2 separate regions of the Homo sapiens genome follow, and region 1 is linked to region 2. Evidence: promoter capture Hi-C in 16 types of primary human blood cells and fetal thymus (Javierre and others, 2016). All regions are on one chromosome and are shown on one strand. Each heading gives the region's core, a stretch centred on a gene start or on the middle of the fragment in contact. The rest is flanking DNA. Distances are from core to core; before and after follow the strand shown. Region 1 overlaps SLC49A4 (solute carrier family 49 member 4). Region 2 holds the start of SEMA5B (semaphorin 5B).

Region 1 (2,700 bases), core at 56-2,555, 210 kb after region 2:
GCCCTATGCTTATGCTGCCTATGACAAGAGTACAGATGGAGGTCTCTGCATGTCCTTCTTCTCTTCTGACCTCTGGCCCTGGCCTATATATCAGGGCTTTGCATATATGCATGTGGAGCTGAAGGTCCAACTCCATCTAAGCTCCAACTATCCCCTCCAAACAGCTGCCCCTTAGCTATCCCTTAGGCCTAGGAAGTACACAGCAGGGATGCAGCCTACTCTTGGAAGAGCAGGCCTGGGAAACAGGCTTGTTGTAAGGCCTATTTCTGGGGTCTTGTGTAGCTAGTGCATAAGACTAGAGGGTAGAGGGCAGGGTGTGCACATCCCCTTGGCCCTATGAAATCCTCAACCCACATGGAAGGGCAAGGCTGAAAGAAAGCCAGAATGGGACACCCTCAGGCATGGAATCCAGGACAGGGACTCTATGGCATGGTTTAAAGTGGTACTGGCAACACAGTGGGGAGGTGGAGGGCGGATGGTCTGGAGAACCGTTAAGGTGATACAATATATATGGCAAGGAGAGGGGGTGGATACTGGAGGGCACCCATAACTCTGTGCAAACATCTAACATGTGGCTAATATAGGCCAGAAGCTAAGAAAAGCAGTCTGAGCTGAGAAATATAAGTTGTAGGTGGATTGGGGTGGGGAAGAAACACTAGAGAATAACAACATTTTAAAAATAGAGGAATGGGAGTCGAGCAAGATGATTGAGAAGGAGCCATTACAAGGCAGAAAAAAAGCAAAAGAGGAAAGACTGGTATCACGGCAACTAAAGAGAGACGAGTTCCAAGAACATAAGAGCAAGTGGTCAACAACATCACATCAAACAGAAAGATCGTTTATAATAACTGAAATGTAACCACCAGATTCAGCAAAGAAGAGGTCATTTGTGGTCTGAGTAGAAGCAGTTTCAGTGGAGTGTTCAGCATGGAAGTCAGACTCATGAGGAAATCGAAATCTAGATTTAGACTATTTCTAGAAGAAACAGATGCAGGAATAAAAATTAGCTATATAAGCTTAGCGAAGTGAACTGAAAAGAAAAAACATCCAGCTTAAATGAACAGTCTGAACTAAAAAGTCTCTCCACTTTCACACATTAAAAGATAAAATGCGACTCACGATTATCCTAATGCTTTCTAAGCACTTATGAAAGAAGCTGGCTCTCAGAAACTAGTACCTGTTGATCTGGGCTGACTATTAAAAACGACAAAGAAAAACGAAGGAGGGGGATTCATAATCTTCAGTACAGTGAAGTCAACCACACAGTTTAATATTAATTGTTTGTCATCATTACATGCCTCAGTTTTGTTTTGCTAGGTAAAAGTTAAGGTCCTTGTAGGTCAGGATCATGGCAGCAGTCCCCACAGGCCTCACTCCCATAGCGCTAAGGCAGTGTGGATGCTCTCGGGAACTCACAGACTGGGCCCAGTACAGGGACATGCAGTCACTGAAATATGCAACTAAACTGTGTTTCCAAAACTTCACAAAGTTATCCAAATGCATACATCAGATCAGTTCTATTGATAAATTTTAACAAGTTTAAATTCAGTAATACAAAAAACAAGATGACTAATATTCTCAAAATAAAGCTTTTAAAAAAAGATGTTTTAGGGTGCTTTAAAAGCAAGGCCAATGTGACATTTTAAAAAAGGATGTTTTAGGGTGTTTTAAAAGCAAGGCCAATGTGACATAACTGTCTCAAGCACAGTGGACTTGGGAAGGGTGGGCAGAAGTTAGGAGTGTGAGGAGGCAGTTTTGTCTTCTGGGCAATAAGCTCTGGAGCAGAAAGGCAGTTGTCCAGTAATGGACTAGTTAATTCAAGGGGTCTGACTCTTGCCTCCTTACCCGAAACTCCACACCTGATGAAAGCACGTGTATCCTCACAGTTAATGGACTGCATTTCTCTTGCACCTCTGCAGGTCAAGCTGTGAGAGATCTGTCAGGAAGCAGATGTGTGCCTCCTCCTTCAGCCCAGTCTCCTCATACTGACTCCTTAACTCTCTCCTGTTTCTCCATCCACCTCCCAACCCACGGCCCCCAACTCCCTTTTCTTCCCTCTTCTCTGAAGTCTTTCTCCTTTTCCCTTTTTTTCCTCCTTACCTAGCCTCTGTCTACTTCTGAAGCCTGGCTCATCCCATCCCCACAAGCCAGATGGAAAAGTGAATGAGAGAGGGTGTATTAGTCCATTCTCTGCTGCTAATAAAGACATACCCGAGACTGAGTAATTTATAAAGAAAAAGAAGTTTAATGGACTCACAGTTCCACATGGCTGGAAGGCCTCAGAATCATGGTGGAAAGCGAAGGAGGAGTAAAGGCATGCCTTACATGGCGGCAGGCAAGACAGTGTGTGCAGGGGAAATGCCCTTTATAAAACCATCAGATCTCACGACACTCACACACTATCACAAGAACAGCAGCATGGGGGTAACCACCCCCGATTCAATTACCTCCCACCAGGTCTCTCCCACATGTGGGGATTATGGGAACTACAGTTCAAGATGAGATTTGGGTGGGGACACAGCCAAACCATATCAGAGGGGAACTTCTCCTGCATTGGCAGAGCAGGAATGGTGGAGACTAGAGAGGGAGACCTGGTGCTGCCCACTAGCATCAGCACTGCTGAGACTTCTAGCCTGTGGCAGGAATAGGAGAGGACCCAGCCAGGCTCAGCCCCAGGTGCGCTGCAGAGTCCCACTGCCC
Region 2 (2,786 bases), core at 18-2,517:
AGGAGGTGCTTCTCTGGGGCTCTTAGTGTCTCAATTCTTCTGCTTTATCTGGGTTTTCCTTTACCCAGAATTTTATTATGTAAAATGCTTCACTCAGACTTTGTTCTAATTATCCAATTTTTGGCATACTCTAGAAAGTCTTTTGATATTTTCCTTCCTCCAACTTATCTATTTTTATTTCATAGTTCTCTTTGGTTATCTCTTAGAATCACACTTTCCTGGTTTTAATTTTTCAAATCCTTTGTCTTTCTCACTCGTTCTTAGGTCACCTTTTTTTACATTTTCAAATATATTTTTTGTTCAGCAGAGGGCTCCCTTCCCATCCCTCTTGCAGCCCGGGCAGCTAGGATTTGAAGCTTGCCCCTTGAATCTTTCTCTCCCGCCTTCTAGCCATCAGAAACACTAGATCACTTAAACTTGTAAACAATTCGGCCTCGCTCCTTGTGATTGCGCTAAACCTTCCGTCCTCAGCTGAGAACGCTCCACCACCTCCCCGGATCGCTCATCTCTTGGCTGCCCTCCCACTGTTCCTGATGTTATTTTACTCCCCGTATCCCCTACTCGTTCTTCACAATTCTGTAGGGTGCGTATTACTAACCCCAGTTTACAGCTGAGGAAACTGAGGCTTGGAGAGGTTCGCTCGGTATCGTACAGTTTGCAAGGTTAACCCTAATCCGGCCAGTTCTGGCTTTCCAGCCCAGCCCAGCAGCCTAGCCTCCCTCTCTGCCGCTGCAGGTTATAACGGCTCTCCCCCGTTTTACACGAGGTCCCTTCCCCTTCAAATCCACAGGCAGGAAGATCGTTCCGAACTGACGGGGCTGGGGAATGTGGGAGTCCGGAGTGGGGTTTGGGGGAGCTTCCTCAGGCCCTGAGTGTTGGGGTGGGCAGGCCGCGCCGATGGCCCTCGGGGATGTCACATTCGAGATGGGGTGACCGAGAACGGCAAGGCGGGATGTGGCAAACGGCGGCAAGTGCTCGGAGTCCTAGGTCTTGCCGCCGGAATGCCGGCCGGGGAAGGGGCTTCGGCCCACCGGGCTGGTCACCACACTCGGCAGGCCCGGGGCGGGAGTCGGCCGAGCAGCCGCGGGATGCAGGGCGCCCCCTCGCGCTCCTCCGCGCGCCTCGAGGCTGGCGGGTGCAGCGCCCGCCGCGGCAGGTCTGCTCCAGCCCCCTCCTCTTTTTCGCTCCCGCTCCCCTCCTTCTCTCCCTTTGCTTGCAACTCCTCCCCCACCGCCCCCTCCCTCCTTCTGCTCCCGCGGTCTCCTCCTCCCTGCTCTCTCCGAGCGCCGGGTCGGGAGCTAGTTGGAGCGCGGGGGTTGGTGCCAGAGCCCAGCTCCGCCGAGCCGGGCGGGTCGGCAGCGCATCCAGCGGCTGCTGGGAGCCCGAGCGCAGCGGGCGCGGGCCCGGGTGGGGACTGCACCGGAGCGCTGAGAGCTGGAGGCCGTTCCTGCGCGGCCGCCCCATTCCCAGACCGGCCGCCAGCCCATCTGGTTAGCTCCCGCCGCTCCGCGCCGCCCGGGAGTCGGGAGCCGCGGGGAACCGGGCACCTGCACCCGCCTCTGGGAGGTGAGTCCCGGGAGCCCCGGGCGCTTCCCCTGCGCGGGTTGGGGCTGCAACTTGCAAACTTCAGCAACTCGGGTGGGTATCGGGGTAGAGAGGTAGGGGTCCGGGCTCTGGCAAGTTGAAGCCAGGTAGGTGAGGCTGCGGGCGGGAGGACAGGGGGTCCCCTGGCTTCCGCGCCTCCCGCTGCCACCTCGGCTTGAGAGCCCTCATCGCTGCTGCGTTCCCGCCGCCAGCCAGCTTGGGTCCGGGTTGCACTGGGCCCTGCCAGGGCTGTGGTCGGCGCATCTGGGCTGCAGCGGCGATGGGGACCCGGGACCCAGGCCTGGAGAAGGAGACGGACGAGTGAGGCTGAGGGACGGAGGGACAGAGGTGCGGAGATGGAGGCTCAGAGAGGGCCGGCTAGTAAACAGCACTGAGGGAGAGTGCGGGCGGCGAGGCGCGTGGGAACGCGTGGCCCGCCCAGAGTGTGAAATCTCCCGCTCAGGGACGTCCCTGCTCCACCGCCGCCGCCTGCGGAGCCGCCGCCCGGATTCTTCCCAGACCCGCCTCCAGGACACTCTTGCCCTGACCAGGCCTGCGGAGCGTGAACTCTGCCCACCAGGCTCCAGGGGCAGTGGCTCAGGGCCCCGCACTCCCGGCTGGGAGGGTGGAGAGGGGTGCGGCAGCTGGAAGCAGGGACGCGAGCGGCGATTTCCCGATTTATGTTTCTCATGGTAATTTGTCTTTGTGGTTGGGGCTGCCCATTCACTTTCCGCTCACGTCCTGCGGGAGATCCAGCGAGGAGGGAGGGAGCGGGGGGCGCTCGGGCACAGAGAGGGATGCAGACGGGAGAGGGGATCGGGGACCCGCGCGGGGCGGGAGCCAAGAGGGAAGTGGTCGCCGGACCGGCGGAGGAAGAAGGCGAGGCTCGAGAAAACCCGGCCCAACGGAGCCGACTCCTTTGCCCACCGCAAACTTTAAACAAGGAGGAGGATCACCTGCAGCGCCGTTCTGGCCCCCTCCTCCCCGCCCCCGCCCCCCACCTCGAGCCCAGTCTTTGGGTAGTTCCGACTGCCCGCCGCGCCAGGCGGGAGTGGGCCGAGAGTCTGGATGGGGAGAGAGGAGCGCTGGATTCTGCCCGCACCCCTGCGATCCTGCCCAGGCTTTCTGCAGAGGGGCGGGGTGAGAGCAGCAGGAGCCGGGAGGGCGGGCTACCCTGGCATGCACTCCTTCCCGGCCAACGG

Evidence for each region. The method cuts DNA at HindIII sites, captures the fragments that hold promoters and counts their contacts. A CHiCAGO score of 5 or more calls a contact.
Region 1: a fragment that was not itself captured here is called in contact with the fragment with the promoter of SEMA5B in region 2 in 1 of 17 cell types (M2 macrophages); the score reaches 6.1 in M2 macrophages.

What each region holds. Positions count from the first base shown.
Region 1 is chr3:122,820,733-122,823,432 of GRCh38, reverse strand. The region is part of intron 2 of SLC49A4 (solute carrier family 49 member 4); the gene reads right to left. Among named protein-coding and RNA genes, the nearest start is that of SLC49A4, 27 kb to the right of the region's middle. The HindIII fragment of the contact is 573 bases long and covers 1,019-1,591 here.
Region 2 is chr3:123,026,244-123,029,029 of GRCh38, reverse strand. It overlaps SEMA5B (semaphorin 5B), which reads left to right and starts at 1,267. Exons shown (of 23, transcript NM_001031702.4): 1 at 1,267-1,566. RefSeq lists an enhancer at 156-663. The HindIII fragment of the contact is 2,453 bases long and covers 359-2,786 here.